Linked DNA regions of Homo sapiens: regions 1, 2, 3, 4 and 6 are each linked to region 5. Evidence: promoter capture Hi-C in 16 types of primary human blood cells and fetal thymus (Javierre and others, 2016). All regions are on one chromosome and are shown on one strand. Each heading gives the region's core, a stretch centred on a gene start or on the middle of the fragment in contact. The rest is flanking DNA. Distances are from core to core; before and after follow the strand shown. Region 1 has its middle 340 kb from the start of LNCSRLR. Region 2 has its middle 310 kb from the start of LNCSRLR. Region 3 has its middle 880 kb from the start of DIPK2A. Region 4 holds the start of TRPC1 (transient receptor potential cation channel subfamily C member 1). Region 5 holds the start of SLC9A9 (solute carrier family 9 member A9). Region 6 has its middle 290 kb from the start of LNCSRLR.

Region 1 (4,370 bases), core at 1,684-4,183, 1.9 Mb after region 5:
CAGAAGAAATCGCTTACCAAGGCCCTAATTTTGCCTGCTATTTTCCACAGTGTTGCAGAAAATCAAAGGCTTTCCTGCCCCTGTGCTTCCATTCTTGACTCTCTCTGATCGTATTCCCTCAGTGCCCTAATAAAACGCACTGAGGGAATAACTGTCACAATGTGCTTTATCCATTTCTTATCTTCCTCTTGCTATTTACATCCTTGGGGCTTGGTTTAGCTTTATTAATCCCCTGAAACTACACATATTTCTTCCCACAAACTGCTTTTCTGAAACAGCAAGACTTGACTTGCCCTAAAGAAGCCAAAGAGACCATAGCACCAGGCATGAAAACAGAAAATGAAGAAGTTAATTTTTTAAATTCTGATAAAACTTCTTTTGAAGTGACCTTTCCATGGATTGAACAAGAGCTCTCCTTCTTCATCTTGACATATGAACTTAGGGAGAATCAAAACTGTCCATTGCAGTCAAAGCTTTCAGAAGTTCTCCTTTTTTCTAGAAGTAAACTTTTAGTCACAACTAAGACTAGGTGCTTGTTGAGTGTGAGATCCTGAACCCCAAATATGCTTACTTTCTTGATTGCAATAGTTGTTTCCAATTATATCTGTTCACACTGGCTACACAGACAAAAAGATTCAATCTCCACATGTAGAATTTTGTTCCACAATGTAAGTTCTTCCTCCACCATGAAGCAAAATGACAGATTATTTACATTTGAGTCTGAACCAATTTAATTGCAACATTGCAGTGACAAGATGGTAAAACAGAAAGAAAGTAAACAGGCAAGCATACGTAGGTATGGCACTCATAGCTTCTAAAATTAAAAACACCACCCAAGACAATAGAAAGTGTAAGCTAATGATTATGCTGGACTGTGTCTTGAGTAGGCTTTCCTCTTTTCTTGGATCCAACTGATGAAGCTTGATAGAAGGGTAGACAGAGTGACAGCCCCATGGGGGAGATGCTAAAACTTGGGGCAAGAAGATAAAAATGCCCCCACTCCTCCCTACTTGCGCAGAAGTAGAAGCACAGGGAAAGAACAGGTGAGTTCCTCTAAACCAGTACTTTTTACAGTGTGGTCCACAGCCAGTGCAAGTTCTGCCAATGTGACTAATAAATTAAATGAGTTCAGGAATATGGAGGTAACCATTTAGACTTTTATAGGAACCTGAAAGAGTGGACTTTTGTCTGATGAATTTAATTTTAAAAATATGACCTTGCATATTGCTTATTTGTTTTCTATCTCAGTTTTCAAGTATTTCATTTTAATTATGATTTACTAAATTATTGATCAATAATAAGCTGGAAATAAAAAGGTCTGGTCCTTTCCTGCATACAGCACTCCTCCACATTCTAATACAATTGTTCTTTCAAGCATTGGACATGGGTGCCCTTTCACCTTTACAAAGAAGCTCCAGGAAACTTGTTATCTTTAACAAACCTTCAAGAGTAGAAGTTAAGAAATACTTATTCTCTCTTGTAATTTGCCAGTGTCTGCTCTGCAAATCTGTTTCCTGATGTAATTAACAAACTCACTGTCTTCTCTATGTAACTGTTCTTTCTTTTAGATTTGGCTTCATTCAGTTCACTTTTACCAAATACACACCTAACAATTGACAGATACTATATTGCCCAGATCAAATATAAGATAGAATCTCTAACTGGTCTTCATAAGGCCTGTGTTTCTTTGTGTGGCGATTTTACACTGGGCCACATTCTAATGGGAAGATTAGCTAAGGTGCTAGCTATTCTTGAGTCAGATACTACCAATTTTAACAACTGTGGTAGAGAAGGGGCTGTAGTATTGCAAAGTACAGAGCAAGCATACCACCATGTAAGGAATTATTAGGATGTGACAAACATAGACATTTTAACTTAGTTACAGGTAACATGATATTGTGAGAACATAAATAAATACAAATAAAACTTGGATACACAGATATCACAACCTTCTTCATCTATGGATATTGCACCAAGTGAATTATTTCTGAATAAGATAAATCAAATAATTTCTTCTTCTAGAAAAGTGGTAGCTTGAAACAACCTCCAGGTATAATCCAATTAAAAATGCTGATTATCATTATTTTTAATCCTTTAAAGCGAATGAAAATACATTACTATGGAGAACTAAGTAGGAGCTGAAGCTGGAACCACCAGTAATACATGGTGGCTCAAGGCTTTGACTCAAATCCACCACACAAAAGGGCACACAGAAGACAAGGCCTAGTATCCTAGACCAAGCTTGGTTAGTGACTCCCAGGAAAAGTAGTTCTCAAGGTGATAACTGCAGTTGGGTGAACTAGAAAGTAAAATGCCTCCAAAACATGCATGGGAGAAAAAGAAACAGATACAGAGAGAAAGTAAACAAGTCTAAGAATTTCTTAAACAAGAGAAATAGTTCACGGAAGAGAAAACACAAATATGAAAAGTGATTAGTAAGTGGGAGAAAATAAAATTATGAGGTAAAAATTCTACACTCAGATACCAAGAATTAAAATGTCATGGAAAAATTCTTAGCGTGTGTGTGGAATAACTGAAATACATCAATTGTTAGTGGATGAAGTTATTTATGTAACCATAATGAGAAACAACCTCGCATTATTTAGCAAATCTACAGATGTGAATATCATGTGGCCCAGCAATTCCATTCTTAGCTGTTTGCCCTGAAGAAAAGCGCAAGAGGATTCATGGCAGCACCATTTGGAAGGGCCAGCCTTTGAAATAATCCAATTCTCTTTGACAGGAGAATAGATACATAAAATGTAGTAGCATTCATAATGGGATAGCAAACAGCAATACAACTTAGATAAACACCTCATCCGTCAGTAACAATAGAAAACACAATATTAAATAAAAGAAACATAACACAGAATAATACACAGAATACAATTCTACTTCTGTAAAGTTTATGAAGTATGCAAATTAGCAGTGTAGTGTTAGGGATGCATTGATACACAATAACACTATAAAGAAAAGCAAGAGAATGATAAACACAAAATTCAGAAACTGGGAGTCAGAAATGCAGACAAAATTGGAGAGAGGTAAATAGAAGGCTTTAAAGATATATATACTGCACTTCTATAAGCTGGGTGGTGAGCGTGAAAATTTTTTATTATTTTGAAACATACACATATAATATTTATATTTTTGTATGTATGATATGATTTACAACAATTTAAAACTATCGAAGATGTGCACATTTAAAGAAACTAGAATACATATATATAAGAAAATTTATTTGTAACGTGAACACAACTTCAGAGTTCTGCCTTAAAACAAAGTTCTTGCCTTATCTTTGCAAAACAGCACCAAGAAAATAACTTGTTAAACTATGTTGTATAATTAAAATCTCTGCATTGGATTATCATGAAAATGTTTAAAGAGTTATAGAATTAGATGAATTAAACCATTCACATTTGCATGTAAATCTACAATGCTGCTTTTTAGAAGTAGTTACTAATTTTCCATTCTAATGATATCTAACTTGGTGATAATTCTATACTTAGCCAACTTTCACTCAGTTTTTGTTAATCACCTTTCCATGTGTTTGAATACTGTATTTGATGAGAACAGGAAAGAAGCAAGCAGTATTAAACAGAAAGAATGAAAAGTTGATGACTGAATAGAAGCTTGTTTGAATGCTACAAATAATTGAAAACATATTCAAGAAGATGAAATTTGTTAAACAATAGTACTGGATTCTTCCATTGAACATATTTGATTATATAACAATAAATGTTTTTCTAACTGGAATTTTGTTTTTATACTTTTTTATATTTGATTTTCTGTTTGACACTGTGGAAAACATGATTATTTGTTTGAATGTATCTTGTTTTTCTCTGTTTCATGAATGGATATAGCTCTGTGAGATCCTTAGAAAGGGGAGAATATCAATGTAATAAGTATTTTGCATCTACATCATAGATACAAACAATTTTTATATAATACATACATTAAAATTGCATTATTCTGAATTATAAAAGAGTAGGTCGACATGGAGGTTATGATATTAAAGTGTTATAGAAATAAGAATATTGGAGAATAATTAGATGCTTAGGCAGCACAGTTAAAAGTAGAATTTTGTGGGATTTTTTTTCTTATTTTAGGATACATACCAACTTGTCAATTGCTAATGTAATTATAAGATTCATACATTTTACCTTTCAAAATCTAAAAATGATTGTCAAGGTGAATTTTCTTCATCACATGAGATAATTTACAAAAATTAAGTAAATTCCAGGTTTATCATTTTGGAAGATGTCACTGATTAAATAGTTCAATGTTCTCATTTTTAAACAGGAACCATCTAAAACCTAAAGAACTCAGTTCAATTTTCTGATAGCATGACTGGGTTTCGTTTCACATGTCCT
Region 2 (4,132 bases), core at 187-2,686, 1.9 Mb after region 5:
TACACAAAACTGGAATTTCAGTAACAGAAACAAAGAAAAGGTTTTCAATAAATAGTATTGGAAAAGTTAAGGTGTCATAAGTGAAACAAAATGAATGTAAATTATCAAACCATATGAAAGAAACAAAATGGATTAAAACCCTAAAATGTGACCAAAGAAAACATATTGAAAAAAATAATAGGAGAAAACCTTCATGGCACTGAGGTTGCAAAAGATTTCTTAAACAACATAGAAGTATAAATGCAAATTTGGTTCAAAATAAAAGATTCTTTTGAGTAAACTAATGAACATTTATATTTAATTTTATTTTAAACTGGCTTAAAAAATAATTTCAACTGTAGTTTAAATCTTAAATTCAAGATACAGTATTTTTAAAAGCTTTGAATAAAATAATCTGAAAAAGACAATGAATTTTTTCAACACCACTCTTCTCATTTTTGTTCAATGATTATTTTATTGAAATTGAATTTTAAAATTATTTTGCAATGGAACTTGCTGTCATATGGGAAGGGGAAAAGCTATGTATAAATCATATGCAGTTGATATTGGGAAAAGTGCCATTCTAAATATGAAGTGAATACAGAATCATCTTCCCTTATATCTGGATATTCTAAACTTGGGAAATCAATATTGTTGATTGACCAATTTCTCAGATTGAATTTACTGAATATGTCTTAAATCCACTTAAAATTTGGAAAATAAAATAATTTTAAGCATTAGTCATCACATTACATACAAATGAGGGAAATATTTAAAATATTAATACAAAAATAAAAAACACGTTTAATTCAACCAAAGAAATTGATCTTATCTATTTTGATCTGATTTTACATAACATAGATATTATTATATATAGCATTCATTGTCACCTTTTTATCCCATCAACATCAGAATATTAAGCCAAAGAAGTCAGTTATGGAAGAATATATACAGTATGATCTGGTCATATGATTTCAAAACTAGACAAAAGTAAACAATACACAGCATATACCCACACATACACTTTCTCAGGTCATTTCAAATTCTTCTTAAACATTTTTGAGATCTACCTAAGATCTAATTAAATTAATACGCTAACTCTTGTTTTGCCACTTGCCTATTATTTCTTACTTTATAAACTATTTCTACAGTGAGCATATACATTTTTGTTCATAGCTATAACTTCTCAAGAAATGACATATAGAAAAAGAGAGTGTGTGTTTTTATTTTTACATTAATGATAACTTTTTGGTCACATTCTGGGGGTCACAAAATATTAAAGTTAGATCTCTGAAGATAGTGTTTTTTAATATCTGTATAGTTTTGCAAACAGGTCTTAGGAAAACCTCATATTTGAGCTCTGTGGCTACCCATTTTTTTCACTCTAACTGCTTCCAATTTCACAAAAATGTAAAATTTCTGTCTAATAGAGTTTTTTTTATAAAGGTACCTTTAGACAAAATACACATTCTGAATTTTCAAAATAAGATATTTGTTGTTTTTTAAGAGAAACATTCTAGGGTTCTTTTTTTTTTTTTTTTTTTGAGACGGAGTCCTGCTCTGTCGCCCAGCCTGGGGTGCAGTGGCGCTATCTCGGCTCACTGCAAGCTCCGCCTGCCGGTTTCACGCCATTCTCCTGCCTCAGCCTCCCGAGTAGCTGGGACTACAGGGACCCGCCACCACGCCTGGCTAATTTTTTGTATTTTTAGTAGAGATGGGGTTTCATCTATGGTTCTTTTATTCAAATTTATCTCTTCTGTTCTATCTCTCTGTAATTCCTTTAACAACATTGGTGGGAATTATTGTGTTTTCTGTGTCTTATATTTTCCTCATCACTTTTCTCTGAAGTCTGGTACATTTTTCTGGTCTGTCTGCATATAACTTAGCCAAGTTTCTGAAATATCCAGTTGGCACGTACTGCCTCTATTAGTTATTAACTTAACCACTACCATTTTTCTCTCTTTGTTCTTATTTGTTTTCACATATTACTTACCAATCTTAGCTCATCCTAGATTCATAAATGCACATTCTCTAATTTGGTAAAATAATTTACAAATTTTCTAAAATAGTTTTTCTGTCCATTTGAAACTAATTTTTCTGTATGTTTCTTCAGTTACTTTTTTCAAGGGAAATAATTAATCTGATTTCTATTCTTTTAAAATTATAGTATCTTTTAAAAAATCTACCAGTAGGGGTTGTTTATCTTCTTATTTTCTCATTCTTACAGGATAGCAGCTGTTTCCTGAATTTTGGCTTATAATCAGAAGTTCTATTAAGAAATTGGATTTCTGTCCAATTATTTCATTTAGTTCAGGAAGAACTGAATATTTTATACTTACTGTAAATTTGCACTATCAGTTCAGATATCTATCAGCCAGGAAGGAAGAGGATGGTGGAGAACAAAAGATTTCAACTCAATAGAAAGTTTTATTCTCCCACTGCACAACACAATTGCAAGTTGGAAAAATAAGTGCACTTTTATACATAATGGTACTGACCATGAGTCTGCAGTATTGAAGCTTTTCTCTATTTACGTATTATTTTGCCCATTTTTTTCTAGCAATTTGAAAGTTGGGGGAAAAAGACTTTATTTTCACTTAGACTGGTTTCAGTTATACACAAAATTGCACTAGCTGAATATTTCCAAAAATGTTCATTAAAATTGATACCAATTACCAATTTGAAGGTATACATCAACTTTAACAATAGATAAATAAGAATAAATATTTTAGTCATATTTTGCCAACATTTATATAATTTGAGGCGGCCTGATGCTTTTCAATGAATCAGTAATTTATGTGATTTTAATTTCAAATAAATTGTACAGAAGACTTTTCCAAAAAAAAATAGCCTTTAGTACATCACAAAACTCAAAGTTCTATTGTAAAATACAATAACTTTAGCAATATTCAGCAGTAAGAAATATGATATTTGTTTAATTTACACTGTATGGCAAATATGCTCAGTGGATTTCACACATGATTTCTAATTATCCCAACAACTGTGGGAATGTTAACTTTTTAACACTGGTACAGTGAGGTGAGATAATGATATACTTGCTTTTAAAGTGCACTCTCATAACTGGTATGAGAAAAGCATCCAATTTCATTTTACTGCCTCACTTCATCTTTGATCCATATTCCCTTTTCTCTCTACATAGCATTTCTTTTAATGTGTTTCATCCATCACCTTAGATAGGTATTGCTTTTGTTAATATATAGTACTATTTTGTATGCATGTGTTTTTAATTTGCATAAGTAATATTGGATCATAGATTTCATTCTGTTTCTTACTTTTGAGAGATAGGAAAATTAAGGTTCAAAGAGGCCAAGTAGCTTCCACAGGAGTACATAACCTGCATATTTATACTTGAGTTCCACACTACAATGTGTTTAACTCTGAAAGCCCTTGCTATTTTCAGTGCATCACACAATTGATTCCTAATATAAGTGAACCCGTGGCATAGGGAAACATTATTTTATAGGAGTTTCATTGTATTTAACTCTGCATATATTGAAGAAAAAAGTTAAACCTTTTGAGATTATAGCAATAAATACTATGCCATTTGATCACTTTCTATTTGTACTTAAATATGTACTCATTGTAACTCAATATAACTTTAAAATAATGGCAATATATGCAGTTTCCATATTGTATTCATTTCTATAAATGCAGTTAACCTAAGTTTATAAAGTTTGAAAATTACGTCTTGTGGAACAAGAACTAGACAAAATACATGTCTGAATGGTAAAGTATATTCATTATAAAACTGAGTCTGCTACATCACTTTCAGGAAACTTCAGCCTGGTGGATTGTTTATAGTTTGCAACAACAACCCTTTTCATGCAGTTTTTGCCCTCCTTTTGACCAAAAAAAAAAAAACATTTCCATAGGATGATAATTTGTGCCTTATTTTCTTTTAGGAATAAATAAATAACTTATAAAATAAAGTTTGAATTATTTCATGGGCCATGTGCCTTCTAAACATTGGTGACTTAATAAACCATTTTCCAAAAGAACTAAGAAGAAATAAGTTGTAGTCAAGACAAGAAAAACATCAACAGCAACTTTTTCTAAGCATGTACACAGCCAACTTGCCAAGGGCTCTGTGACCACCCACCTGATTCCTCATCAAGGCAGTTGCCTGGTTTCC
Region 3 (4,460 bases), core at 274-2,773, 1.0 Mb after region 5:
AGGAGAATCACTTGAACCCAGGAGGCAGAGGTGACAGTGAGCTGAGATTGCGCCATTGCACTCCAGCCTGGGCAACAAGAGTAGAACTCCATCTCAAATAAAATAAAATAAAATAAAATAAAAGTAACTCTGAAGAATTACCCAATTCTATAAAAGGAAATTCTGACTTTTTTTGTACTTCCATAAGAATTGATTGATCGCATACCTAATTCTTTCTAAAATGTATCAGAAAGTACCATACAGTACATGTTCACTGCACAAGGCAATGTACATGCATGTCTGTTTACATCATCAGAGGGCGCTACTGGAGGACAAGGGTGGACTTTACTTTCTTTGGGTCTCAAACAGCACCCAGCATCATGCTTAAGGCATTGTATAAGTGTGTGTTAAACAAATGCAGAACAATTAAACGAATTTTAATAAAACTGAGTGTCTTGAGATCAGCATGGTATCACATTTAAAAGAAACAAAAGGCTGACTCCAAAAGTATTCAAAATATAATGGGTCTTTGTGGAAGTTTCATGCCCTTGTTTCTCCATCCAAAATCACTCTCATCACTGTAGCTGCTTCATTTTCTATTTCCCTTTTGTTTTCTTCTGCTTTTCAAATTCCTGACAGAATCCATATTCTGTAAACTGTTGCTCTTTTCTTGCCATTTCACTTTCACAGATTTGTCTTACCTTGTTTTAATCCATAGTCCTTCTGCACTACTTCAATACCTTTAGCTTCCTGCTGTTCTCACTCTCTAAATTCTACAGGCATAACAAGGTTCAATTAATGCTGGCCCCGAGTCAAAAACCTCCTTCCTTTAGGCAACTGGAGAGAGCCGATGAGTGAAATTGCTTAAAATCGTTTCTTGTCTTTGTTTTTACTTATATTAGTATCTGTCACACACAAAGGACTCACAGGTTGAAAATGTCTGGTTCTTTGAGGAAAAAAAAAATAGGTAAAGGCATTTACTAAACACAGCACCTGCGGGTTCCTGTGAAAGAGGAGGCATAGTTGGTGGTCCATTATATTGCAATGCCATAAACTCTAGCCAGTGTCTAGGTAGATTCTTGATACTCTGGCAAATAAGAGAGATGAAGATCGAAATAGAATTAGCAAGCTTAAGGATCAAGCAAGAATGTCTTTCAAGGGCTGAAAATATTTGTTCTTTGTTTTCTTTGCCTCTTCTCTTTAGCCAGGGAGTGGATAGCCTCAATCCCCTGAGTGTCAAACCCCCTGATAGTACTGCAGTTCTTACTTATGCTCACCTCTCAAAGACTTTCATTCTGTATTTATTCTCTCAAGATATCTCTGTTAGGTTGTCTCTCTACTGAATTCTGCCCATCAATATTATGGGATGTATGTACAGCACTACTGTAGTATCTCTGATCTTGTAAAAAACCCTGTCTTAACCCTACATTTTCCTTAAACTATTGCCCCATGATATGGTTTGGTCTGTGTCCCAAACCATATCTTGTGTTGAATTGTAATCCCCAGTGTTGAGGGAGGAAACTGGTGGGAGGTGATTGAATCATGGGGGGAATATCCCCATTGCTGTTCTCATGATAGTGAGTTCTTACAAGATCTGGTTGTGTAAAAGTCTGTAGCCCTTCCCACTCTCTGTTGTGAAGATGTGCTTGCTTCCCCTTTGTCCTTCTGCAATGACTAAGTTTCCTGAGGCTTTCCAGCCATGTTTCCTGTACAGTATGTGGAACTGTGGTTCAATTAAACCTCTTTTCTTCATAAATTACCCAGTCTCAGGTAGTTCTTTATAGCAATGTGAGAACGGACTAATACACCCCATTTTTCTGTTCTCCCACTTAGCAAAATGACCTCAAAGATTTGGGAGGATCAGTCACTCTTAACTTCTTTATTTACTACCTCACTGGAATTTTCTTCTAATTCGCCTTGCTTGACTTCTCCTCCTTAACTCTAAAAGTTGAAATAAATCAAAGCTTTATCCTGTGTAGGGTCCAGCCCTACGGGGCTTAGCGGGTGTTCTCCCCGTGTGCAAAGACTAGAGATGGTAATAAATAAAGACACAAGACAAAGAGATAAAGAGAAAACAGCTGGGCCCCGGGGACCACTACCATCAAGATGCGGAGACCAGTAGTGGCCCCGAACAGCTGGGCCTGCTGATATTTATTGCATAAAGACAAGGGGGCAGGGTGAGGAGGGTGAATCTTCTAAGTGATTGACAAGGTGAAGCAAGTCACCTGATTACCGGATAGGGGGCCCTTCCCTTTTAGGTAGCCAAGGTAGAGAGAGAAGGCAGCATACATCAGCATTTTCTTCTCTGAACTTATAAGAAAGATCAAAGACTTTTAAGACTTTCACTGTTTCTTCTACTGCTGTCTACTACGAACTTCAAAGAGGAACCAGGAGTACGGGAGGAGCATGAAAGCGGACAAGGAGTGTGATCATTGAAGCACAGCATCACAGGGAGGGTTTTAGGCCTCCAGATGACTGCGGGCAGGCCTGGATAATATCCAGCCTTCCACAAGAAGCTGGTGGAGCAGAGTGTTCCCCAACTCCTCCAAGGAAAGGAGACTCCCTTTCGCGGTCTGCTAAGTAATGGGTGCCTTCCCCGACACTGGTGGTACCGCTTGACCAAGGAGCCCTCAAGTGGCCTTTTGCGGGTGTGACAGAAGGCTCACCTCTTGTCTTCTAGGTCACTTCTCACAATGTCCTTTCAGCACCTGACCCTATACCCGCCGGTTATTCCTAGGTTATATTAGTAATGCAACAAAGAGTAATATTAAAAGCTAATGATTAATAATGTCTATAATAATGATTGATAATTCTTCATGATCATCTCTATATCTAATTTGTATTATGACTATTCTTATTCTAACTATTTTCTTTATTATACTGAAACAGTTTGTGCCTTCAGTCTCTTGCCTCGGCACCTAGGTAATCCTCTGCCCACAATCCTGGGCCCAATTCTCCTTTCCATCTACCTACACAATGTCCACAGGTTATATCATCTATCTACTCCTGTGACTTTAAACACCATAATTGTGCAAAATGCTCTTTGAAATCCCACAGTGATATACCAAACAGCCTTCTTGCCATCTTCATGTGTTTGTCTAATGACATCTTATATATGGAGCTCTTGATTTTTCCCCTTAAATTTGTTCCATATCATTTAGCCTATTCTAATAAAGAGCAAAACCATCCTCTCAGAAATATCCTGCTAACTTTTTTTCTCCCTGCTCCAACCTCTGATCCTTCTACAATACAATTTCCATATGGCAGATAAGATGATATTAATATTGTACATAAAATATTATACATAAATATGTATCAGATCATGTAACTCCTCTGCTCTAAAGACTCCAGCGGTCTTTCAAAATTAGAACAAGCTCCAAACGTATCATCCTGGCTTACAATGCAAAGTGATCATCCTCTCCTTATCTCTCTGCCATGAAACTCAAGCCTCTACCTTCCTTGCCCAGCATGCATTTGTGAGTGGGACTCTCTTCAGATTTTTTTTCAAAGTTGCTAAACCGAGGCCTGTTTAGGGACTTTGATCAAAATATTCCTTCCATATTTGGTCATATATTTTTTTCACAAATTAAAAAAAATAGTAATCTTGAAATTATTAGCATTACCAGAAATCATCAGGCATTTCAAATTATTTATATTCTTATTTACTCAGCCAGGTTGACATACAGATATGCACAGGTCCTCCCTATGATCTTCACATAGCTAGCTCCTTCTCATCATTCATAGAGCAGCTTAAATGTTACCTCTTCAGGAGGCTATAGGAAACCATTCAGTCACTTTTTATCACATCACCCTTTTAATTTCTCTGTATATCACTTAGTACCAGGCTGATGTTGTTTATTTGTCTAGTTGCTTATTGTTTGTTTGTCTCCCCCAATTAGAATACGAGCTCTATCAGAAGAGCATCCTTGACTCTTTTGTTCTTCGTTGTGTTCCCAGGACTGATGCCTGACCCAGAGCAGGCACTCAATAAATATCATTAATTATATCATATTGCATTCCTTATGGCATCTAGTGCAATACTTGGCTCATATTTTGAGTTTAACAATAGCTTCAAAATGTTTGTATATTACTGAGTCAAATGTTATACCTTTTTAATTTGCCCCTAAAATATTTAGGCTGCTTTCCCTCCAATTTCTGATTGTGAAAAATAAAGCTACAGAAGTGGAACATATAGAGTATCTATTAAGGGAATTAACAGGGAATTCTGGGGAATCTCCAAAAGAAAGAGTATACAAAGTCTTTAGGAAACTTATATTTTAGAAAAAAAAATTCAATACCTCTATTTGAAATGGACGTAATATATACTATAAAAATGTTCTTCACCTCTCCAAAAGATTAAAGTATACACACAAACAAAGTAAAATTAAATGGGTGAGTAGTGATTCCATCTACCCATGTGTAGAATGTAAGGTTAACATTTCTTCAAAGATATTCCACTTTTCATTCATTTTCATGTTTCC
Region 4 (4,108 bases), core at 932-3,431, 1.1 Mb before region 5:
ATAGGCATATAGACCAATGGAACAGAATAGAGAACCCAGAAATAAACCCAAATACTTACAGCCGACTGATTTTCAACAAAGCAAACAAAAACATAAAGTGGGGGAAAAGACACCCTATTCAACAAATGGTGCTGGGATAATTGGCAAGCCACACGTAGGAGAATAAAACTGGATCTGCATCTCTCACCTTATACAAAAATAAACTCAAGATGGATCAAGAACTTAAATCTAAGACCTGAAACTATAAAAATTCTAGAAGATAACATCGGAAAACCCCTTGTAGACATTGGCTTAGGCAAGGATTTCATGACCAAGAACCCAAAAGCAAATGCAATGAAAAGAAAGATAAATAGCTGGGACTTGATTAAATGAAAGAGCTTTTGCATGGCAAAGGGAAGAGTTAGCAGAGTAAACAGACAACCCACAGAGTGGGAGAAAATCTTCATAATCTATGCATCTGACAAAGGACTACTATCCAGAATCTACAATGAATTCAAACAAATAATCAAGAAAAAAAAAATCCTAACAAAAACTGGGCTAAAAACATGAAAAGGGCTGGGGGCAGTGGCTCATGCTTGTAATCCCAGCACTTTGGGAGGCTGAGGCAGGCAGATCACCTGAGGTCTGGAGTTCGAGACCAGCCTGACCAACAGGGAGAAACACTGTCTCTACTAAAAATACAAAATTAGCCGGGTGTGGTGGCACATGCCGGTAATACCAGCTGGTCGGAAGGCTGAGGCAGGAGAATCACTTGAACCTGGGAGGCGGAAGTTGCGGTGAGCCAAGATCACGCCATTGCACTCCAGCCTGGGCAACAAGAGCAAAACTCTGTCTCAAGAAAAAACAAAAAAACATGAATAGACAATTCTCAAAAGAAGATACACAAATGGCCAACAAACATATGAAAAAATGCTCAAGATCACTAATGATCAGGGAATTCCAAGTCAAAACTGCTATGCCGTATGTACCACCCTACTTCCGCAAGAATGGCCATAATCAAAAAAATCAAAAAATAATAGCTGTTGGTGTGGATGCGGTGAAAAGGGAACACTTCTACATTACTGGTGGGACTGTAAACTAGTACACCACTATGGAAAACAGTGTGGAGATTCCTTAGAGAACTAAAAGTAGAACTACCATTTGATCCAGTAATCCCACTACTGGGTATCTACCCAGAGGAAAAGAAGTCATTACACGAAAAAGATACTTGCCCATGCATATTTATAGCAGCACAATTCGCAATTGCAAAAATGTGGAGCCAACCCAAATGCCCATGAATCAATGAGTGGATAAAGAAACTGTGATATATATATATATATATATATATGTGGTATATATATATGTGATATATATATAATGATGGAATACTACTCAGCCATAAAAAGGAATGAATAAATGGCATTCGCAGAAACCTGGATGGGACTGGAGACTATTATTCTTATTCTAAATGAAGTAACTCAGGAATGGAAAACCAAACATCGTATGTTCTCACTCACAAGTGAGAGCTAAGCTTTGAGGATGCAAAGGCATAGGAATGACACAATGGACTTTCGGGACTCGGGGAAAGGTTGGGAAGGGGGAGAGGGATAAAAGACTACAAAATTAGGTTCAGTGTATACTGCTCGATGATGGGTACATCAAAATCTCACAAATCATCACTAAAGAACTTACTCATGTAACCAAACACCACCTGTTCCTCAAAAACCTATGGAAATAATATGGAAATAAAAATTTATATATTTGTATAAATTATTTAAACATAATATAATTATATATCTATATATCCTTTATAAATGAGAGTTCATTTCCAGCCTAAAATGAGTACAACATACAAACCCACGAGTCTGGCTCTCCATTGTGCTTTAAAGCATAGTGCACCAGAATATGAAATAGCTGGACAATTCCACAAAGGATTTCGACTAAACATTAAGTCGTCAGAGACTCAATTAACATACTGCTCCATATTTGCTTAATTACCTTAAACCAGTACCCTGGGTGTGGAAAGGGACGATTGAGCGAAGTCTTCCTCAGACTGCGGTTCACCTCACCAGAGCGAAGGAAGCTGCAGCGGGCTCCAGGAGCCCAGTGCGTCCCCACCGCAGGCCCCACCCACCCACGCCCCGCTTGCCGCAGGCCCCGCCCACCCAAGCCCGCCCTTGCCGCAGGCTCCTCCCTAGTGTCGTCGCTACAGAGGAGCAGAGGATGACGTGAGGACAGAGTCGCGAACATCTCCTCGGAGCGCAGCTGGGCCAGCGGTTCCCACAGCCCTGGAGCCCAACGTGCGCAGAAGCGCCTCTTGGAGCTCCTCTCCCACAGATCTCTCGTCCTCTTCCTGGGCTAGGCCGCCCCAGGCGCGGCCCCTGCGACTCCTGGCACGGCCCCGTGCTCGGCTGCCGCCCTGGCGCGCGCCACACTGTCGTCCCCGGACGGGCGCGGACCGGCTCGGCCGGGGCGCCGGCGGCTGGGGAGGGGTCGCTGGCCCCGGGGCCGCGCATGCGCCGCCACCAACTTGGGGCTGTCAGTGGAGGGCGAGTGCTGGTTCTCAGGGGAGGCGACGCCCTTCGGGGCCAACGGGCCTCGAGCCGAGGCAGCAGTGGGAACGACTCATCCTTTTTCCAGCCCTGGGGCGTGGCTGGGGTCGGGGTCGGGGTCGGGGCCGGTGGGGGCCCCGCCCCCGTCTCCTGGCCTGCCCCCTTCATGGGCCGCGATGATGGCGGCCCTGTACCCGAGCACGGACCTCTCGGGCGCCTCCTCCTCCTCCCTGCCTTCCTCTCCATCCTCTTCCTCGCCGAACGAGGTGATGGCGCTGAAGGATGTGCGGGAGGTGAAGGAGGAGAATACGCTGAATGAGAAGCTTTTCTTGCTGGCGTGCGACAAGGGTGAGAGTTAGGCCCCTTTCTCCTCTGGACGCCCCTGTCCTCCAGACCTTTAGTCCTCTCCCCCGCCTCAACTTATATCGGGGCATTCCCTCTGTCTCAGGCGCCGAGTGTCTTCCCGCCTCGCCTGCTGCCTCAGGCGGTCTTCTCCTCACCGCCTCTGCCCTGTGAGTGTGGAGCTGGCGGGAGAGTGGAGCTGGGGCTGCGCCCTCGGAGCGCTGCACCGTCGGGGGTGGCTCTGGCCTTGGGGTCCGGGGTTTAGGTAGCGCCTTGGGAGCCCCGACCCCAGCGTTTTAGCGCCGCCCTTGCTACTGACCGCATGAATGACCTGGTCTTCTCTCTGGCTCGCAGTTCATTCCTTCCGGGAGTCGAGAGGCTAGTTTCCGACACTCCAGTCGGAAAATTCCGTCACCTTACCTTAGGATGCCTCGTATGGAGGGTTCTCATCACCTGGTTTTTGTTTTTCTTAAAAACAAAACCAGACCCTCTATTATTTAGCTTCACCTGACCAGTGCTTTAGCCAGTGACTGTTGACTGGCATTAATAACGGAATATCCTAGGTGGAGATACATGAAGTAAGGACGGGACGGAAGAAATTCTGCCTTAGTTGCCAAAACTTTCTCTGGATTTACGGAACGCCTTTGATTGTTAGTGCTTTTTATTGGAGAGAAAGATTTATTGCTCCCAGATCTTTCTTTGGGAGATAAAGATAGTGAAAAATAATTACAGGAATTACAAGGCAAAAATATGTGGAATATATTTAGCGCGTTATCCTTTTTTTAGTCTAGAAGTTAATCATTTTTATGGCCATATTAAGGCCATGTCACGCAATCATCCTTTGTAGTGATGTATATAACAAAAGGGATAGGAAATTGATTGCCCTAAGACTGCTTTTGTTTCCTACATGGAAACACTAAAATTTTTCTTTTTCCAAATTTATATGGCTGTACACTTAGGAAAACTCTGTTAGAAACATGCAAACTTCTGGAACAAACCCAAAGGGCAGTTTACACTATGAAAAGACTAACTACACAGGATTTTTGTTTGTTTGTTTGTATGTGTGAATGTGTAATTAATAAATGACAGCCTTCCTAACCTCTCCTCCTGCTTTTGAAATAGGATTTTATTTACATGATTTTTTGAAAACAATTGACATATAAACAAAGTCCACCTATGTCTGTGGTTGAGCCATTTTTATGTTCTTATGTAATAGTATTAAATAATATTATGAA
Region 5 (4,450 bases), core at 1,198-3,697:
TGAACTACTATTTTATTATTTCAAGCACAATTTAAAAATATTTCAGAGAGTTTTGCAGGATTAAAGGTAACCTGGAATTTTTCAGATTCAAAAGTAAGAGTTACTGTATGTATTGTGAATGCAAAACATGACTGAATTTTAGTAGGTTATCAAAACTTTTACGAAAACAATATCCCCACCATTGAACTTGGTAAATGAGTCATAGTTCAATCAAATTCAGGGATGTGAAGAAATCTTTCCCTCTAATAAAGGTTGGCAATCTATTAAATCTGGGTAGTTTTGCTAAAGCACATATGTCCCTTTAATATGATATCAAGAATTACATTGTTTCTGGCTTCTCAGATTCTATTCCATATCCTTGCAGATTACTTATTAGTCAAGTCAAGAGAAAAATTCTGTTCATGATGGAGATAGGCAAATGACAGGAACCTAGGGCTTCACATCTGATGGCATCCCCTCCTTTTTGTTTGGCTATTTCTCTCCCACCTGATTGTGATTTTTTTTTTCTCTTAAATGAGAGTTTTCTTGTGCCCGTTAAGACCCTCAATACTGGCTGGGAATGGTGGCTCATGCCCGTAATGCCAGCATTTTGGGAGGCCAAGGTCAGTGGATCTCTTTAGGCCAGGAGTTGGAGACCAGCCTGGGCAACATAGTGAGACCCTGTCTCCACTAAATTTTAAAAAATAAATAAAACAATACAGCAAAAAAAGGTTTTTTTTTTTTTTGCATTTGGGTTATGTTTTTTTTCTTTTTTTAATTATACTTTAAGTTTTAGGGTACATGTGCACAACGTGCAGGTTAGTTACATATGTATACATGTGCCATGTTGGTGTGCTGCACCCATTAACTCGTCATTTAACATCAGGTATATCTCCTAATGCTGTCCCTCCCCACTCCCAAGCAAAAAATTTTTAAAAGACCCTCAGTACCAAGGAATTTAACTCTGTGCTCTGAATGGATCAGCATATCAGCCTCCTGAGCCTGAAACTTCCGCCTTATAGCTCAAGTATCTCACAGTGGGATCCACTTAAGGCTTAGGATTCCTTAGGTTCTGAAATCACAACTATACACTGTTAATATCAGGACACCACAGGATTAGCATATACAATGTGCATTGATCTGTACCCTGAATCTCAGGCTTAGGAAAGGGTTTCAGGATTTCCAAAATGAGGAAACCCCAAATATAAAAGTATGTTATTTGCTATAAATTATAGCAATGCCTTGCCTGTTGCCATTGTGTTCAAACTTCCTATCCATTATCAGGCTGAGATAAGAGCAGTGAAGTAAACTATTTCATCAGTAACACCAGTAAAAACTGGTGTCTTTCATTTTACTTTAAAAGATGAGAGTACAGACAGATAATCTCTGTCAGACTTTATTAAACTTTCTGAAAGGAATGATACGGTAAGTTGCCCAGAAAGAGCAATACTGCAGGTGTTAAATATTTTTCCACACCTTGGCCTCCAATACATAAATAGGAGATACATAACAAATAACACTAGCAATGATCATTATAAATTAGAACATCTGAAATCAGGCTAAGAAGTAAAAAGTACTGCATAAAGAAACTCTCGTTTATTTATAACTTTTTATTATAAGAAAATAAGACACTGTTCGTATAAATAAAAAGGACTTGGACACAATATTCTCTTAAGAGGGGTGGGGTTAGTTTCTGCAAGTTTTCTTCTTGAAATTAGTTGATATAAGAGGAATTACTCCAGGCATTTTGAAGTGATGTTTTTTCTAGAACTTCGTAATGTTCATCGGTGCAGCCAGTGAGAGAAGGCTGCTCTTTGTGACTGCAGAGCCATCACTTCCCAACATCATTACAAAAACAAACAGCTCGCCCTCGACTCCCCACATGACAATGGACCCGCATCTGTCAACAGACTTGCATTATGTGCCGTGTGAGAACATGACTGTGACATTTGCTCTCGTGACATGGCAAATTTCGGCGGCTTGTCTGTAAAGAGATTAGCATTCGTTACGCTGCAGCACCTTTCATCAAACTAATGACATTTCAATCAGCACATTTTCTCCAGTTTCGGTACTTTGCTATCTGAGCACAAGTCTCTAATTACGCTCAAGCAACAAGTTTCACATCAATCTCACAATTTATGCACTCACCATACACCATTGCTCCTCCAGTTTCATGCAAGAAGCGGAATCGATGATTTTTAAATAACCAGATTGTCAAAATGGTAAGGATGAGCAAAAAATTGAAGACAAGCAGCTCCACCGCTCCCTGATGTTGAAACTGATACTCATCCTTTTCTGACATAACCCTTGACTGTCTCTCCATTCCCCAGTCTTCTTGGGATTCCTTAGATAAAAACCTGGATAAAGGCTATTTTATCAAGATTTGCCTAAGACAGTCTGACTGCCTGAGAATTTCAGAAGAAACACTGCCACTTTAGTTGCTACTTCACAAGCATTCTGCCCTGGCTTAGTATTCAGATGGCTTCTAGTTACAACTTCCTGTTTCTCTCTTAAAGCAGCCCTGTCTCTTTTCAAACTCGAGAGTGTGTGGTTTCATCACTGACTCTTAATGTCTTTAAGTGATTCATCTCATGAAAATATCTTTCATACTGGACAAATCTGCAAGCAATGATGCTAAGATCTTGAATCACGGTCTTATTATTCCAAATAAGTCTTCTTAAGCTGCATAAATATGAACTGTAGATTAATAATAAAAAAGGTAGCCTTACACTAGCAACGTTTTCTAAGTTCAAAAAGCCAATTCCTGACTCAACTTCACCTAAATGCAAGATCTTTCCTCTCTAACCAAGACCTGCCAAAGTGATGGGGATTGATAGCACAGTTATCAATCAGCCTCTGTGCTCTAAATGGATCAGCATATTAGCCTCCTGAAAAGATATTACACTGCTTAGCCTGAAACTTCCGCCTCATAGCTCAAGTATCTCACAATGGGATTCACTTAAGGCATAGGGTTTCTTATAGGGTTTCTTATGCTCTCAAATCATGACTGTACATTGGTTAAGCAAACCTAAAGTGATTTCACAGGATTTTTTTTTTTTTTTTTTAGTTGAGAAGCAAGAAAGGATTTAGTATATGACTCTATTTGGCTTTATATAATTGATAGTTGCAGAGCAGCCTTTAAACTCTAAATCAATTGTTTTTCTTTTAACAAGAGAAAACAATGAAAGCAAAAGACAAATAAAATTCCATCCCCATCTCTACAACTGTACTGTTTGGATACGTTGAGACAAAAAAGAAAAAAAACAAAACACATTACTTCGAAAGAGAAACTCACGCAGCCATCCTCAGCAACGCCACATGCATGGATTTCTCTTTGTAGGGTTCCTGGTCTCGGCATCCAGGACCCACAGAAATCTGCAATAGATCACAACCTCCTCTGTCCTATGGCAAAACAATGTTGCTCACTGAGAAATGGTTCTGCCACCAGAAATGAAAGCTCTGTATTCACAGGATTCTGATCATAAGAGTGATGATTCTTCAGATCATCTTCCATGTGGCAGGTTGCTCCTGTCTGATTTCATATTTTTCTACTTTAAAATAGTTCAAGATAATACCATGGGTTCTGCAGCTTTTTTTTCCTTTTCTTTCTTTTTTCTTAGCAAATATTATGACCTGCTTGCTTTTAACACTTGATCCTATAACACATTTGGGTATATCCTGGGGTTAGCTGATTTTTTTTTTCATTTTACCATATCATTGTAATTTGGGAGTATTAATCACTTATGATCCCCATTTTGACACAATTAATGCTCAATTTATACAATGTGATTTCTTATTGAGTAGGCTGAGCCCAAATGCGTCCTGAAACAATTTTTGTCACTAAAAGCTAAAGGTCAAGCATGTAATATTATTGGGAGCTAACTACCTCCTCAACAAACAGTTTCACCATGAGAGCAAGTCTATCAACCCCTTAATACAAAGCTCTGCTGTTTCAGCATCTTTGCTTTGTGCAACTTTGGAAGCTTATTTCCTCTCTGAGTTTAACTTAGCAGAGGGTATTTATGTGTGCTGCAGATGTTCTTCTGACACGCTACCCTTTTTGGCAGGAATATCTGTGATGACTAATATTCATACTGTTTTGAAACCTATCAGCTAATGCTTGCAAGCATTTCATGGAGCTTTGCTAGCAGGTTCTACCTTTATGATTTTGCAACTCCACAGGTTCAGTCGAGTTGTCAGATATACAAGATAACACAAATTCAGAAACTTCCTGTCCTTTTGTTTTTTGTCATTATTGAATTACTTTGGTTTTCTTTTATCACAATTATTCCATCTGAGTAGAATAAACATTCTCTGGTTGATCCGTGACATCCAGTTTCACTCTTTTAACCAATGAAGCAACTTGACAAAAGATTAATGGCCCATAGAATGTTTTGATTGGCTTACACGTCTTTTTAAAAAGTTTTAGGTTTGATGTCAACACATTCAAATCAGTATATTTAACATTTAA
Region 6 (3,963 bases), core at 1,022-3,521, 1.9 Mb after region 5:
AGTATTTCTCTTTGACATCCTTCAGAGCAGTTGTGAATTGAGGCAAGAAGGCCAAGCCTTTATACAATTCCATTTATTGGCCACTGGATGTGGGCTGCCCTTACGATCAGGCATGATCTTATGTAAGGCAGTTTTCTTCAACCGTAGCAATCCTAACCCTCCCAGAATTCTTTGAATTCTGCTCTCTAACATTAATTTATGCCAGTACCATGACACATATTCCTGAGTATTCATTTGTTATCTCAGTTTTTTAGAAGGTCAAGAAATATACAGTTCTGTCTCCCCCAAACGAAATAAAGAAACCATGTCCATAAAGTTATTTCATACTGACGTAAGTTGTTAACACAAGCTATGAAGTATCTTGAAATTCAGGTGACCCATATATAATCTTGAAAATAGCAAACTGAACTAACTTAATTCCCCAAATTCCTTTAAACCTGGAGTCTATTAAAAAAGACTGAGAAAGAAAATAAAACTCACATATTTCCTCTTTGTGCATGTTTTACATTTGCAAATTTAAATGGATGCTAGACCATATGTTATATAGACTTTGTCATAAGTGTTTAGAATTTTGTTCACAAAAAGCACTTTGTGAAATCTATTGTAGTTTCATCAACCTCACACAGCTGTAGTCTTTGCTTCAGGTAATGCACTTAATGCCTATCCCACTTTGCATACATAAAGAACATCAAACTTGTAAGTAATCCACGATACAAAGAAAAACACAAATGATATCTGCACAGAGAAATACAATTTTATTTTATAACAAAAGCAGTTCATTAGCTCCTGAGTTCAAATGAGTCCAAATCCACAACTGATAGCATACTTCCCATAAGGATTCAAAAACTAAAAAGGCAGTAAATGTAGGTGCACAAGCAATGAAGCAGGCAGGATTCAGAAAATCTTATTTTGAGTCCTAAATCCACCACCACCTAGCTCCGTGACCTTGAGAAAGAAAATTTATTACTTTGAATCAATTTCTAGATCTGTCCTGCTTATATTATAAGCTTTTGTAAGGATAGAATTGGAAAGGCATGTAAACGTGCTTTGTAAAGGACTATTACAAATAAATTGGTAGTACACTGCAACAGGAGTAACACAAACTGTCGGGTTTCTGGAATATTTGCTGTGCTCCAAGTGATTTTTATATTGCATCACTTAATCCTTACAAAGACACTGTAAGAGAGGAGCTCTGATCCCCATTTGACAAATGAGGAAATTGAGTTTGAGAGGAACTCTCTACAGGTTTTCTCCAAAGCCCACTGACTTATTATTTTCATAGAGCCTTAGAAGCCAGTAGGCAAAGGGAATGAAGAGATGAATAGATGAAGGATGGTGCCATGTCACTGAGAATACGGGAATACTTGAGAAAGGATCATCCTTGAACAGCAAGGAGAAGACCTTTCCCACTAAAGTAGGAAGGAATTAGGAAGGATTAAGTAGATGCAGATACCTTTATAGGTGATAGGATGCTTAGGGAATAACAATCAGGTATTTTCTCTTTTCTGCCTGCAATAAAAAGTTAGCTCTTCTCCTGAGGGAAGGGTTGTGATAAGGTCAGCAGTTGAGAAGAGAAGCCAAAGTTAAAAATAGGAGATGGAATTGACTAGAAACACAATGAGAATTTTCCAGGCTATTTTGAGGATCATACGTTTGTCACTTTCTAATCCCATAAAAGTGTGTGATTTTTCTTGAGCATACATAGCAGCATGGGTGTAGATGTTGAAAAGGCAGACCCTTGATTGATCTAGAGTTGGGTTTGACCCTGGGTGTAGCACTGATAGGGAGAGCAGACAGGGGAACTGAAGGCAGTCAACGTCCTAAGCTATGGCTGTCATCTTGTGTTCGCAACAGACTATCCTTTTTGAAATACATTTCTTTCTATTGACCTATGTTATTTAATGTATTCAATGATTTTTTTTCTTCCCTGGTTTAACATAAGTGGAAACAAATTGTTCATTCCATTGCTTTGAGACTTGGCTCATTTGAGCTCCATAAATGTGGTCACCCTGTGCTCTGACCACAAGAGATGGTCAGGATGTGGCCCTTGCCAGCTGGGTGGTCCTAGGGCAGGGGACTGGAACAGAGAAACAGCTAAAGTCCTTCCCCACCCATTGGGTAGATGTGTTCATGTTAAGAATGGGATTGTGATAACATACTTTCAGATTTTGAAATACAATGTGCAAACAGCTGTGACCTTGTAACAATGATCACAAAGACCTTGAGATCATTCTTACAGTGCTCTGTTCTCCTTGCTCTGTAAGTGACAAACAATTCAGATTTTGAAACAATAAATAGAACAAAGGAACTTGGTCTCATGTACTTCTTCAAATTTAGTACTGATGCTAGGTAAAGATTGTTAGATTTTGAATATAAAAGTTTCTCCAAAAATATGCCTTGTCCCTCCGTTAACAGATCTGCCTCCCATGACTAACACTGCCTCCCCTCTGTGCTTGACTTCTGATTGGGACTTATTATTACTCTAATTGCTGAGGGAGGACTGCTTGTTTTTAGTGAATTATTTCAATGTGTGGGAAGAAAAATCTCATAAAATGAAGACCATCTTGTAAAAAAAAAAAAAAAAAAAGAATTTCTCAATCCTCACCTGCATTTGCTTTTCTTCTTACCTTGTTTCTTTTTAATATCTCCATAATGCTTATCATCATCTGACATGCTGTATATCAACTTCTCTCTCTTCCTCTCTCCTTCCCTCTCCCTCTTTCTCCCTCTTCCTCTGTTTCTCCCTCTCCCTCTCCCTTCCTCCCTGTTTCTCTCCCTTCCTCCCTCTTTCTCTATCTTTAACCCTCTCTTCCCCCACTCCACCCCAGTATGTAAACCCCATGAAGGAAGTAAGTTCGTTTTGTTAACAGCTATATCTCATACAACTAAAACATCAACAGCCAGAGAGTGGGCACTCAGTGTTTGCTGAATGGATGAATGAAATGAATAGATTACCAACAGGTGATAAAAATTATCAATAACCCAATAAATCTTAGGATTTAGAATTTCAATGTAAAACTAATAGAATTTAATTGTTGAATAAGACAAGTTGAGATAACATTACTTTTCTGTCTCACCAGCAAAGTGAAATGACTTGAGGAATCATGGAGCTGAAACCAGTATCACATGAACTTTAATCCCAGAAGTCATCAGCAGGGGGTGCTACAGTCATGTGTCCCTAAGCATTACTCAGAGCCTTTTCAGAATCGTCCACAAGCTGAACATCATTTTCTTCTCCAAATACAGGAAAAATTCCTTCTGGCCAGAAAGAGAAAATTTTAACTACATTTGTAGTTGTTGTTAGTGTCTCATCAGAAAATTAGTTGGCTCAAGTTTGAGGGCTGAAACTCCTGCTTCTATAGAAACCTAAAATCTCGTTTGAAAAACCCATTCAGAAAAGCAGTATAGTAGATTGTTTTTATGTTAAACTACTAATGCTAATGTTTATCTTTATTTTATACTCTTAATAGTGCAAATTATTTGAATGTCCAGTGTTTAAGGGCAGGACATTATTCAAGGTTCATTGTATTGTATTTCAAGCTTTGGAGAGGCCGTGCATAGTCTCACAGGTCTGTAGACACGACAGTTTGCAGGCATCTGGCAATTCACTGACTTAAACACCACTTCCAATATAGGAATGACTTCTACAATACTTTCATCCTTTTTCTATAAGAAAACTTACAGTGACAATTCATCAAAATACAACATATATTTGTTACATTTTTATCTAACATCGATAGCAAACTTCTTTATAATAGAGTTAACTAAAAACCTAAATGATGAGAGACCATTAGTACATTTTGTTCAAAGGAGGAAGGAGTGATTTAGATATTTGTTTTAGAAACTATATAAATATCCTAGTGATTTGAAAGAGCAGATATAGTTGGAAACTGTAGAGCATGTTAGTTAAAAGTGTAAGTTATTAGCATATTAGCCAGAAGCACTATTAGCCAGTGCTTCTAA

What was found. Contacts are between HindIII fragments. The CHiCAGO score rates a contact against its expected background, and 5 or more counts as called.
Region 1: a contact is called between a fragment that was not itself captured here and the fragment with the promoter of SLC9A9 in region 5, in 1 of 17 cell types (endothelial precursors). The highest score is 5.6, in endothelial precursors.
Region 2: a fragment that was not itself captured here is called in contact with the fragment with the promoter of SLC9A9 in region 5 in 1 of 17 cell types (endothelial precursors); the score reaches 6.0 in endothelial precursors.
Region 3: a contact is called between a fragment that was not itself captured here and the fragment with the promoter of SLC9A9 in region 5, in 2 of 17 cell types (M2 macrophages and M1 macrophages). The highest score is 9.9, in M2 macrophages.
Region 4: the fragment with the promoter of TRPC1 here is called in contact with the fragment with the promoter of SLC9A9 in region 5 in 5 of 17 cell types (total B cells, total CD4 T cells, activated CD4 T cells and 2 more); the score reaches 14.3 in total B cells.
Region 6: a contact is called between a fragment that was not itself captured here and the fragment with the promoter of SLC9A9 in region 5, in 1 of 17 cell types (endothelial precursors). The highest score is 5.7, in endothelial precursors.

Annotation. Positions count from the first base shown.
Region 1 is chr3:145,729,500-145,733,869 of GRCh38, forward strand. No RefSeq gene overlaps it. Among named protein-coding and RNA genes, the nearest start is that of LNCSRLR, 340 kb to the right of the region's middle. The HindIII fragment of the contact is 1,388 bases long and covers 2,240-3,627 here.
Region 2 is chr3:145,757,897-145,762,028 of GRCh38, forward strand. No RefSeq gene overlaps it. Among named protein-coding and RNA genes, the nearest start is that of LNCSRLR, 310 kb to the right of the region's middle. The HindIII fragment of the contact is 2,120 bases long and covers 377-2,496 here.
Region 3 is chr3:144,851,628-144,856,087 of GRCh38, forward strand. No RefSeq gene overlaps it. Among named protein-coding and RNA genes, the nearest start is that of DIPK2A, 880 kb to the left of the region's middle. The HindIII fragment of the contact is 835 bases long and covers 1,107-1,941 here.
Region 4 is chr3:142,721,853-142,725,960 of GRCh38, forward strand. It overlaps TRPC1 (transient receptor potential cation channel subfamily C member 1), which reads left to right and starts at 2,182. Exons shown (of 13, transcript NM_001251845.2): 1 at 2,182-2,879. The coding sequence starts at 2,708. RefSeq lists a silencer at 2,426-2,475 and an enhancer at 2,734-3,600. The HindIII fragment of the contact is 1,344 bases long and covers 1,509-2,852 here.
Region 5 is chr3:143,846,021-143,850,470 of GRCh38, forward strand. SLC9A9 (solute carrier family 9 member A9) reads right to left here and starts at 2,448. Exons shown (of 16, transcript NM_173653.4): 1 at 2,128-2,448. The coding sequence starts at 2,302. The HindIII fragment of the contact is 4,941 bases long and covers 1-3,960 here.
Region 6 is chr3:145,773,809-145,777,771 of GRCh38, forward strand. No RefSeq gene overlaps it. Among named protein-coding and RNA genes, the nearest start is that of LNCSRLR, 290 kb to the right of the region's middle. The HindIII fragment of the contact is 2,533 bases long and covers 1,006-3,538 here.